2 separate regions of the Homo sapiens genome follow, and region 2 is linked to region 1. Evidence: promoter capture Hi-C in human tissues and cell types (Jung and others, 2019). All regions are on one chromosome and are shown on one strand. Each heading gives the region's core, a stretch centred on a gene start or on the middle of the fragment in contact. The rest is flanking DNA. Distances are from core to core; before and after follow the strand shown. Region 1 holds the start of PGPEP1L (pyroglutamyl-peptidase I like). Region 2 overlaps IGF1R (insulin like growth factor 1 receptor).

The links. Contacts are between HindIII fragments. The study calls those that stand out against the background at their distance.
Region 2: a fragment that was not itself captured here is called in contact with the fragment with the promoter of PGPEP1L in region 1 in 1 of the 25 tissues and cell types used here (bladder).

Annotation. Positions count from the first base shown.
Region 1 is chr15:99,003,706-99,010,001 of GRCh38, forward strand. PGPEP1L (pyroglutamyl-peptidase I like) reads right to left here and starts at 4,087. Exons shown (of 5, transcript NM_001167902.2): 1 at 3,654-4,087; 2 at 1,724-1,951. The HindIII fragment of the contact is 12,693 bases long and covers 1-6,296 here.
Region 2 is chr15:98,857,822-98,864,117 of GRCh38, forward strand. All of the region lies in intron 2 of IGF1R (insulin like growth factor 1 receptor), which reads left to right. Among named protein-coding and RNA genes, the nearest start is that of MIR4714, 77 kb to the left of the region's middle. The HindIII fragment of the contact is 3,260 bases long and covers 1,753-5,012 here.

The DNA of each region.
Region 1 (6,296 bases), core at 2,837-5,336:
GCATTCCCAAATCATGGCTGATTATCAGGTATTTCATCAAACAATTTCCAGTTTGCCAGCAAACCACAGGCTGACAAGACAAAGGCAGGGGTCAGTGTGATTCTAAGATGGTGCTTCAATGTTCATATTTCATTCATGACAAGCATTGCATGCATTAGAGTACAGTTTCCTTAGGAATTCAAGAGTAATTTGAACCATTCAATCTCCAGAACCAAAATAACACAAATAAGAGCAAGGGAGATAAAAGGTTTCCCAAAGAACTTTTTCTCTGAAGGTCGATAGGAGTTAGAATTATAGTCTGAAAAGATTAAGCGACACAACTTTCAATTTCCCATTCATCCAGGAAACCCTGCCTCTTCATCCAACACAATTCAGAAAACTTAAAACCGGCCAAATGTGTCTAACTAAAAATGAAGGCTGGACATGATGGCTCATGCCTGTAATCCCTGCATTTTGGGAGGCCAAGGCGGGAGGATCACTTCAGCCCGGGAGTTAGAGACCAGTCTGGGGAATACAGGAAAACCCTGTTTCTACTAAAAACTAAAATAAAATAAATTGGGGGGTGTGGTGGTGAGTGCCTGTTGTCCCAGCTACTCCAGAGGCTGAGGTGGGAGGATTACTTGAGCCCAGGAGTTTGAGGCTGCAGTGAGTTATGACTGAGCCACTGCACTCCAGTCTGGACAACAGAGGGAGACTGTCTCAGAAAAATTAAAAATATAAAAATAAAAATAGGGCCAGGCGCAGTGGCTCATGCCTGTAGTCCCAGCACTTTGGGAGGCCTAGGCGGGCAGATCACAAGGTCAAGAGATCGAAACCATCCTGGCCAACATGGTGAAACCCCATCTCTACTAAAAATACAAAAATTAGCTGGGCGTGGTGGTGCGTACCTGTAGTCCCAGCTACTCGGGAGGCTGAGGCAGGAGAATCGCTTGAACCCAGGAGGCGGAGGCTGCAGTGAGCTGAGCTTACGCCACTGCACTCTAGCCTAGCGACAGAACAAGACTCTGTCTCAAAAAAAAATTAATAAAAATAAAGACCTTTGTGAAGATCAGGCCCCCAGGGACCAGCTGGGATGCTGACTTGGTGAGGCAAGTGTGGGTGGGGGTGACTCTGGATGTGCTGGTGTTTGCAGGAGTGAGCAGCCACCATTCCTTCCAAGTTGACCTTCTGGGGCTCAGGGTCTCCAGCTAGTGGCTCTCGGGGGGTGCTTCACAGCTCCCTGAAAAATGGAAGTTCTTACTCTGGAAGTGGGGACTGTGTGTTCCTTTGCGGGTGGCTGTTGTAGATGGGTTTGCAAGCCTTGTGAGGGCCCTGTGGTTTCTGGGCGTATAGATCCCTCTTCCTTGCTATGAGCCTGCACCCCCAAGGGATACCTCACGTGCCTCGGGCCCCACTCAGGGAAAACAGGTACCAGCCTCAGCTTCCTCCCTGCTGGGTTGAAAGGCAAGGTCTGAGCCTAAGCCACCAGTGGCACCTTCGTGCCCGCCACTCGAGAGTTACTTGAAGCGAATGAGCCACAGAAGCAGAAATGCCTGTGATCCTGATTGTTTATTAATAGGGCACAGCAGCAAGTTCGTTTCCATCTGGAATTATTAGCACCACCAGTTGCCATTCTTTTTTTCCCTCAGGGAACTATTTAAGACCCAGGATCAGGCCAGTGCGCATTCCAGGGGCAGGCTAAAAGCAGCAACAAATAGGAGAGAAAAAAATTATGTAGTCTTACCAGTCACCACCACGCAGCTGGGCTGGGAATCCATGAAGACGAAGTGGGAGCTCGCGCTGCGCCTCCCTGGCTCAGGCAGCGGCCCAGCGGCCGGGCTCTGCGCGCTCTGAGCTCCGGGCACCTTCTCTGCCTGGCCGCGTGCTCGCCGGGGACCGGGGTGGAGCGGGAGCCCAACCCCTCCTGGCCGCCCGGCGTCCGTAGCGTTCTGGGCCCCGAAAGGCCAAGGATCTAGGGGAGGGTGATAAAGCAATGCCCCTTGAAAGCAGAACGATCCAGCTCAGGACAGCGGGTTGGAGCGCCAGCAGGGACTTTCTGGACATTTGAGTCTGGGTCACTTTGTTGTTCAGGATGGTTCAAAGGTGAGCTAAGGGTTTGGCTACCAGCTGTCCCGGTTTGCCTGGGACAGAAGGATGTCTGGGACGGAACACCACATGGTGCTCAAAGAGGTACTGTCCTAGGAACTGTGGGCTACCCTACAAGTCGTTTACTTAGATCTTATTTTTTCCTCTTTAGTAATCCCTGCCAGAGCCCCTCATTGTGTTTGGCCATTATGATTTGGTAAAATTTGATTGCTCTGAAAACTAATTCCACAAAATATGTGAGATGTGAGCAGAAAAAAAAGAGAGAAAACCATAGATGAATCTTATGGCGCCTGCCTTTAAAATATTGATTGCAAGCACCGCTGCCTAGGAGCTGTGGGTCCTCAGGGAAGTTAACCTCTGTGCTCAGGTTTCCTGTTTTGAGAAACGAGGATCGCAGCACCGGATCCTGTATGGATTCTTTCTGTGCCCCAGGCACTGTCCCCAGCTTCATCAGCCCTGAGGAACAGAGGCTTGCCACCTAGCTAGCGTCTGTGCAAGCTTGCTAGCTCTGTGCTCACCACCCTGCGTTCTACCTGCGAAAAGTGCTTTCTTGACACTGTGCTGGACTCCTTAAACATGCCACTGACAGTGAGCCACAGCCGTGGCATGCCACCTGGCTCTGCAGACAGTCCTCTTTTTAATGTGTCAGAATAACTGAAAAAGGCTAACATTTGAGGCTATTTCCTCTATCGAAAAAGCTGTTTTCCAATATCTTGATCTTTCGGAGAATTCTATTTAAAAACAAAACAAACTTTTGGCCAGGTGCACTGGCTCACGCCTTTAATTTCAGCATTTTGAGAGGCCAAGGTAGGAGGATAGCCTGAGGCCAGGAGTTCAAGATCAACCTGGGCAACGTGGCAAGACTGCATCAATTATTTTTTTCAAAACGTGGTATATGCCCATAGTCCTGGCTTCTCAGGGAGGCTGAAGCGGGAGGATCACTTGAGCCGTCAGTCGTAACTGCACCTCTGCACTCCACCCTGGGTGACAGAGTGAGACCCTGTCTCTAAAAATATTCTTAAACTTTTTTTTAAACTGAAAATACTTTTTTCCTGAAGCTGTATATTAAGAGGAAGAAGACCCATGATTCTCTGTCCCCATCTAGGTCTGGGGAGGAGAAGCTCCCTTCAGGGAAGCAGGCAGAGCCTCTCAAGCACCCTGCGGCCTCTAGAGAGCTCAGTGTGACAGCAGGACCACGTGGCTCCATCTGCTGAATTGTCCTCCTGATATAAAGCGCTCCCTTTTAATTGGGATCACCCCCGCGGATTAGACCCCCCTTGGTGGCTTTCTGGGATTCTGAACCAGGAACAATTCCCTTTAATTAGCTCCTGGTGTGGGCTGCAGGCCTCTTCACTGCCAACAGGTGGGAAGCGCCATTTGCTCCCACTAGTCTCCCACTCCCTGTCCTGAGAAGCTGGGCCCACCTTGCCATGAGTGGGATGCAGAGGATTTTTGTACTTTGCCTCATTTCACAGAAGTTACCCGGTTTCTCAATATACCCCGGATGCACTTGTAGACTTGGTCTCTACCTCCTCTGGTGAGCAGCTCTCCTAGCTCCTATCACTTACCTAGTTCCGTCATGGTGTGTCCAGAATCGGCGGATTCTTGGTCTCACTGACTTCAAGAACGAAGCCGCGGACCCTGGCGGTGAGTGTTACAGTTTTTAAAGGCAGCGTGTCCCAAGTTTGTTTCTTCTGATGCTCGCATGTGTTCGGAGTTTCTTCCTTCTGGCAGATTCGTGATCTCGCTGACTTCAGGAGTGAAGCTACGGACCTTCATCATGAGTGCTACGGCTCTTAAGGTGGCGTGTTTGGAGTTATTCGTTTCTCCCGGTGGGTCCGTGATGTGGCTGGCTTTAAGAACGAAGCTGCAGACCTTCACGGTGAGCGTTACAGCTCATAAAGGCAGTGCGGACCCAAACAGTAAGCAGCAGCAACGGTTATTGCAAACAAGCAAAACAACAAAACTTCCACAGCACAGAAGGCGACTCCAGCAAGTTGCTACTGCTACCTGGGGCAGCCTGCTTTTATTCTCTTATCTGGCCCCACCCACATCCTGCTGATTGGTCCATTTTACAGAGAGCCGATTGGTCTGTTTTACAGAGAGCTGATTGGTCCGTTTTGACAGGGTGCTGATGGGTGCGTTTACAATCCTGGAGCTGGACACAAAAGTTCTCCACGTCCCCACTAGATTAGCTAGATACAGAGTGTGGACACAAAGGTTCTCCAAGTCCCCACCAGAGTAGCTAGATACAGAGCGTCGATTGGTGCATTCACAAACCCTGAGCTAGACACAGGGTGCTGATTGGTGTGTTTACAAACCTTGAGCTAGATACAGAGTGCCCATTGGTGTATTTACAATCCCTTAGTTAAACATAAAGGTTCTCCAAGTCCCTTCCAGACTCAGAAGCCCAGCTGGCTTCACCCAGTGGATCCCGCACCAGGGCCGCAGGTGGAGCTGCCTGCCAGTCCTGTGCAGTGCGCCTGCACTCCTCAGCCGTTGGGTGGTCGATGGGACTGGGTCCTGTGGAGCAGGGGGCGGCACTCGTGGGGGAGGCTCAGGCCGCGCAGGAGCCCATGACGCGGGGGAGGAGGCTCAGGTATGGCGGGCTGCAGGTCCCGAGCCATGCCCCGCACGGAGGCAGCTAAGGCCCCGCGAGAAGTCGAGCACTAACAGCTGCTGGCCCAGGTGCTAAGCCCCTCACTGCCCGTGGCCGGCGGGGCGGGCTGGCTGCTTGGAGTGCGGGGCCCGCCGAGCCCACGCCCACCCGGAACTCGCACTGGCGCGCAAGCGCGGCGTGCAGCCCCGGTTCCCGCCCGCGTCTCTCCCTCCACACCTCCCCGCAAGCTGAGGGAGCCGGCTCTGGCTTTGGCCAGCCCAGGAAGGGGCTCCCACAGTGCAGCGGCGGGCTGAAGGGCTCCTCAAGTGCCGTTAAAGTGGGAGCCCAGGCAGAGGAGCCGAGAGTGAGTGACGGCTGCGAGGCCTACCAGCATGTTGTCACCTCTCAGTGGGGGCTTGGCTTCCTCTGCACAGTTAAAGGAAGAGATTGGACCATTAAGAAATGCCCACTTCTTCTTTTTTTTTTTTTTTCAGATGTAGTCTCGCTCTGTTGCCCAGGCTGGAGTGCAGTGGCGCGATCTCGGCTCACTGCAGCCTCCGCCTCCCAGGTTCAAGCAGTTCTCTCCCTCAGCCTCCGGAGTAGCTGGGATTACAGGCACCTGCCACCAGCCCTGGCTATTTTTTGTATTTTTAGTAGAGACAGAGTTTGACCATCTTGGCCAGGCTGGTCTTGAACTCCTGACCTCGTGATCCACCTGCCTCGGCCTCCCAAAGTGCTGTGATTACAGGCGTGAGCCACCGCGCCCGTCCAGAAATGCCCACATTTGTAAAGTTGGTTGCTGCTAGGGTCCAACTCTGCTATCAACATTCACCTATGAGGTCTGGGAATGGGAACTTGTGTTTAAGGAGACTCCTTAAGTGCAAAGACTGCCCATCTTTAACCATACTACTTTTCTGATAACAAAGCTGAAATTTTCATCATTTTTTTTTTGATTTGACAGGAGCTATTATTTTAACTAAACTGGAATGTGTCCTGCAGTTTTCACTTTCCCATAATTCACTTATTTTTTTCTGTTCTAAAGTTTTCTCTAATTTTGAAATTAATAGAAAAAACAACACAAAATATTTTACTTAGTCACAGTGATATGTCTATTTTTGTATTCATTCACCTCCCCTCTCCCCACACAAGAACCCCCCAGCACATTCCTACTTTCTGGAATGAAAATAGCTCTGAGAAGTATGGATTTTGAGGTTCAACATCTGCACTTTTATTTCTTTTTCCATTGTAAAAACAAATGGTCTCTAATAATTGATGTCAAACACAGTCTTTAGGCTGATGAAATACAGTAAGCCTGAGAACGAATAAGGCAACTAAATGGAGCTGTTTTATTTAACAGAGAGCACAGTGATCTTCCTTACAAGCGGGATTCCCGAGAGGAAAATGTTTGTAATCAGATTTGACTCTAGGATTAAGAGGGCAAGGTGCGACCCTCTTAGTGAACCGGAAAGTAAGCAACGGTACACAAGTGTTCTCACCAGGGACAGCAAATGGGAGTTGCCAAGATTACAAGATCCCAAGACCTCAACTATTTCACGTGCTGAACTAAACTCAAAACTTTGTGGGATTTGTTTTAAATTTCTCATTGGCAAGT
Region 2 (6,296 bases), core at 2,133-4,632, 150 kb before region 1:
TATGTGTTTATTTTGATAAGGATAACTGAGACCTGTACATTCCATTTTTCCTGTCATATTTAGGGCTCATAAAGGGGGTGGTATGCACGTTTTAAAAAATGCAACACAACCAGTTAAACCAGCTGTCTAATTGTACACATTTCCTGGAGCTGTTGGTGTTGATTATTAGCAAATACTAAGTACTTGTAATGACCTAAGAACTATAAGACAAGCAAGTCGTCTTCTGTAACTGAGTATCAGCGGATTCAAGCGTTAAGGAAAATGATTAAGAGAAAACAACCAAAAAAGTCTTAATGGTTCTGTCAATCAAGTGGCTATCAATTCATGGCTATTCAAAAGCTTTTGTGGCTATGAAAATAAACTAGATTGAAAAAATTCTAAAACAAAATTGAAACACTCATTTGAGTTTAAAATTTTAGTTGAGTTGATTTTTATTTCTTGTTTTGGTTCATTTGTAGTTTCCCCCCGCTTCGTTGTTTCCTCAGATATGGAGAATAAAGCCTGGCTGGTCAGTTTCAGTTTTTATTTAAATTCATTTTGTCTTCATTCCTTTTAATCTAGCACAGTCCTGTGATGTATTGGGATCACAGTGCTCTGGGGAAACATTGAAATATAAAAACATTTTCCTGAAAACATTTCCAGTTATATTTAATTTTCCTCCTTGAATAGAAAAATATTTCCAACTTAATCCTCCCTCTCCCCTCTTGAAATGAATTGCATGCTTTGGAAATAACATCAATCCACCCAAGTACACAAGGACAATCTCAGCCATTTAATCGAGATATAAAGGCTTAGAGAACTCTGGGCTTCGGAGGCACAGACTCCACCTTTCAGGATGCTAATAAACGTGGACGAGGTCTCGCCTGGGCTTCCTCCTCCATTGTTCAGCGCAGCAAACCAGCACAGCACTCCGTGGCCAGGGTTTGCGGGGAGAAATCTCTCACTCTGTTTTAGTAGCATCATCATCCTTATCAGCACCCTGCTTTTATTTTTGAACAGCCAAACTTCCTCTTTCCAAACTTCGTGTGACATCTGGGACCAGCTATGTTTGAAGGAGTCTGAACATGCCACATAGTGGCTCACGCTTTTAAGGGAGGAAGGCCAGTAAGCCTCCTCAATGGCAGAATTCTACTTTCAGTCTACCCTTTGGTTCTGTTGTGGTTGTTCCTTAGAACTTTATTCTGCTCATTAGGAAGCCCAGCCTCCGGGGAGGGTTTAGCTTCTCATCTAAGCAAGAAGTAAAATGTCATAATGGAGGAAAAAAAAAAAAAAGTCCAAACTTTTTTTGGACTTTTAGAAACACATCCAGTTTGAGCTCCACTGAGCTATCATTGCAGTTACAAAGCCCATGTATATTGAGATCGGTGTAAAAATTCAGCATGTCCACCTGCATAATTATGACCAGTGTATTGAAAGCACATTTCATTTAGTTTTGCAACAGCCGATGAGGTAGATTCTACCAACATTGTTTTACGGAAGAACAAATGGAAGCCTGGAAAAATAAATTGTCTACCTCACACACTTCGCAGGTGGTAAACACAGGATTTGAACTAAGACATACTTGATTTTAAAGTGTTTGCTTTTCCTTTGCACTACTGCATCTGCGATGTTTGCACTCAGACACTCTAGAATATTTGGTGTTGCATGTTTTTGCCCCAAGAAAGAACCCATTAAAATGAAACTTTCCAGTTCGTAAGCTTTGCCCTCAAGAAGGGAAAGAACTTCTTGCAAGGTTTCTGAAACAAAAAGAAAATGAAAAGTAACTTTACTGTATCTGGGTTTTCTGATTAAATTACGGTTTTTGCAAGCTTGTGCATTTCTCAGTGTCCAGATAGCCAGGATTTTTCCTTTTAATAAATATCACTTTAAAAAACAAACACACACATTCTTAAATGCATGATTAACTGTATAGATTGATTTAGTTATAAGATGTCCTAGCCTAAATATAAGAAGGTGTATGTGTTAGAATTAATTTCTTCAATAAAGAGAAAGAAATTCAGGAATTGTGGTTCTGTTGGTCTTCTGTACTGTATATTTTTGTGCAGCCAAAGCAGCATGCCTTGCTTCTTGGTTTCATGACCACATGGGTAGTTTCTTGAAGTTTTTTCTTTTGAGATGGAGTCTTGCTCTGTCACCCAGGCTGGAGTGCAGTGACGCGATCTCGGCTCACTGCAACCTTCACCTCCCGGGTTCAAGCAATTCTCCTGCCTCAGCCTCCCGAGTAGCTGGAATTACAGGCATGTGCCACCATACCTGGCTAATTTTTGTATTTTTAGTAGAGACGGGGTTTCGCCATGTTGGCCAGGCTGGAGTTTCTTGAAGTATTGACTGATCCTTGACTCTGAACTGTATGATCAAAGACTTTTGAAATGGCACACCGTTTCTTAACATTTAGGCCAATTTCAGTTGCTCATATCCAAAAATAAGTCATGATTTTCGGAGTCAGTGCGCAGCACTTAGTACAACAATCCAAACCCTTGTACAGACCATCCTAGTAGAAATGTGGATCTTGAGTATCTCAGCTTCTTAGTAGATTTTGAACTCCGTGAAAGCAGGAGCCAGGCCTCTCACAGCAAGTCTCTCCAATATGCTCAGTAAATATTTGTCAGATCGAGCAATGACCAGATGATGAAATACATTAAAGCCTTAGGGAGAACTGAGACTACTGCACCAGTTTTTGTGCACTATCATGCTGGAAATCTTTCCAACATGTATTCTGTACTTCTTTGCTTCTTACTCCAGTGAATATAATTTAGTCATTTCTGGCCAACTTGAGGACATCAGCGAGCATAAATTGTTGTATTATGCATAATACAGTGATACCCTCAAGGCTGAGTGGGAGGCAGTTTGCCCTCTGCTGAAGGTTTCTTGTGCTTATTGTGTTCTTATGGTTTGGTTTTACCATTTTTATGTCTCCATTTCTGTTTAATAGACTTATTTCAGTAAGAAGAGAAAGCCGTCTCCATCAGCCCCTCTGTAGGTGATTATTTGCCACTTCCTTTTTGCTGTGAGTGCTTTGAAAACAGATTTCTAAGCTTGTTAGAGTTATGTGTTAAGAGTAAATAGGCAGTAAGTGAAACCAAGCTTCTTCCTGGTGCTTGACTACCCCAGAAATGTTTATTTGCTGAATAGTTGAGTTCTGGAAAGGTGAGGTATAAATGTGTGATAAATTTATTCCTTTGCATGATTTTTTTTTCTTTTTCTTCCCTCCCTCCCTCCCTCCATCTATGTCTCTGTCTTTCTCTGAACATCTCTCCGTCTCAGTCTGTCTCTCTCATGATAGTTGCTGGAATAATTTAAATGAATGTAACTCATTTACCCACATCGAAGCCCAACTCAGTAGTGAAAAAACAAATCTTCCAAATGAATGCACTTTCCCCTTGATGTGCTATATACAAGACCTTGGCACACCTAGTTCAATGACATAGTATTTTAGAAGGGCCTCCTTACACCTTCCTCTCAGATAAATATACATGCAGGGACATTCTGAAGAAGTTTGTTATCGGTCTTCTCCCCTCCTACTATTAGCTCCGCCCTCCTAGTCCTTCTCTTTCACCATGCTGACCCGCGTAGGGAGGACCCTTACACCCTCTGCATGCAGCGCTGGTGCTCCTTAGTGTTCATAACCCCAACCTCCATGGCCTCTCTCGCAGTTCTCAGGTTAGGCCCTGCTTCTAGGGGACATTAGCTTTCCACCCTCTACTACATACTTCCTAGTTGTTGCAGCCTTTGCAAGCAAAACTTGTTTTCATTTGGGAGACAGCATGGTCTGACAGAGCCTAGATCCTGGGGTGAAGACATTCTGGGTTTGTATCCCGTCTTTACCACCTCTGAGCCTCTGATGCTGGACAAGTCAGCAAGTCTTTGCACCTTAGTCTCCTTTCTGTAAAAAGGAGCTTATGGGGATGTAATCAGAGAAGCCTTAGCATGGCTCTTGGTACAAGGCACGGACCAAATCCATGGTACGCTCACTCCTTTCCTTTCAGTAATACTGCCTAAATAGGGCACATGTACCTAAAAGGATTTTGTACATTCCTTGACAGCAGAATTCTCATCTTCTGTTGCATATCCCATAATGCTGGGAACACAAAATAAAAATGGTAGCTTTTCACATTCACTTTTGGCCTCAATTTTTTGTTATTCCCCAATGAGGATCATTTCATTTGGGGCTGGTCTCCGGAAAAAAGTAGATCAAGCTTTTCAGATGAGATTTGGGTGAAACCCTGACAAACTCTTTTTATTGCCTTCCCTACCACATAGTGGTGGATCAGGAAACTGTAGGGCTTATGATGCTGGGAAATTTCTGCTAATGCAATAAAGATTTTTGCTGTTGAAAGAATTTGATCTGTTTTATGTATAACATGCAGAGAGCAGAAGCATATATTATCTGTAGCAGATGATAGAGCAGGGTATATGGGCAAGTTAGAAAAACACAGTTCTCACTACATTTGAAGAAAAAGGACAAGGAGTTGTCACAAGGATCCAGGAGAGTCGCACATAATTTTCTGTCGTGCATTTTGTTGACTGTTCCTCTTTGCATCCTTCAACCATCTTAACTTCCCACTTGCACCTCGCTGGAAGACAAATCTAAGCTAAATTAAATGCTAGGCAATATGTCAGAATGGAAAGGGCCCTCAACTTGGGATGCCCGGTTCTCTACCAGCCTGAATAAACTCCAGCAACAGTATTTCTCTAGGAATCATCTGTAAAAAGTAGAGGTTTGTCATATCTCTAAACTAGGGATTCACCTTATTTATTAAGCTATCAGTGACTTTATCTTGAGGTGCACGGCTTTTAGTAACTCTGGTTCAAGTGCAAGGAATGCAAAGTTAAGTGTATCATTGGAGGTGGGATTTTTGAGTTTGTCAGTCATTTATTGATTTGCATGTATCCTTATAGTTCAAAGGTCTTTTTCTCAACTTAGTTGATGATCATGCTGTAAGTTGTTTTCTTTTGCTTTATCAACTTTTAAAAACGTTTATTAACTTTTTAATTTGAAATAATTTCAGACTTGCATAAAGGTTACAAAGAGTACCAGGAGTTCTGGAACACCCTCCACCCAGCTTCCACAGATGTTAACATCTTACATAACCGTAATACGGTTATCAAAACAGTGTTCACTCCATACTCCAGTGCTGTTAATCTCCAGACTGAATTCGGATTTCACTATTTTCCCACTGATGTCCCTTTTTTTGGTTCCAGATCCAAGAGACGATCCTACCTGGCATTTATTGTGTTCAGTTTTTCTAATTCTGGGACGTTTTCCTGGGTTTTCTTTAGTCATTCACGAAGTTCGCACTTTTGGAGAACATGGGGCCAGTTATTTTGTAGAATATCTTTCTGTTAGAGTTTGTGGATGTTTCCTCCTGATTAAATTTGGGGGGTACATTTTTAACTTGGAGATCACAGAGGTGCTGCTGTTTGTGTCTTTGCGCATCCTGTCAGGAGATGCGTGATGTTTCCTTTCCTGGTGCTGTTAGCTTTGATCCCTTAGTTAAGGTGGTCTCTGTGGCTTCCTCCATTATCATTACTATTTTTCTCTTTGTAATTAGGAAGAATCTTTTGGAGGTAGATACTTGAGACTATCTAAACAAGCATTCTGTTCCTCATTATTCTTTCACCCACTAATTTTAACATCCATTACTGTGATGTTTGCCAAATGGTGATTTTCTATTTCTGTTTTCTACACTTAGTAATTGGATTCTACTCTCAGGATTTTATGTATTTTTTAACAGTGAGGGACATAAACTTTTTAACTAGCAGTGGCAAGTCCACTTTTATTTGGGAGGACAATTACTAGTCACATGAAGAAGAAAAAATATGCAGAAGCTTAAGAAATCCCACATATGAATGTTATTTGAAATGTTCTTGCCCTTTCTCCCTACAAAGGAGGTGAAGAAGATGACAGGAGATGTTAATTGCCAAAATAGTCTCATAGTTTTGGTCCTGGCTGCAAATCTCTCGTTTTTGATACTCAAGAGAATGCTATTGGGGAACTGACTCTGAAGCACAGCCCAGATGCTTGAGATGGGTTGGGAAGGTTTACATCAACACCATGAATTTAATTTATCATGTGACATTTTATTTCTGAGTTTTTAAAGCTGTAATTAAAAGAAGTGTTCAAAGTGTTGCTTTCCTCTTTTAGAATAAACGTGGCTGGGTGTGGTGCCTCATGCCTGTTATCCCAGCACTTTGGGAGGCCATAGGCAAGAGGATTGCTTGAGCCAGGAGTTTGGGACCAGCTTGGGCAACATAGGGAAACCACATCACTACAAAAAAAAAAATTAGCCTGTCAT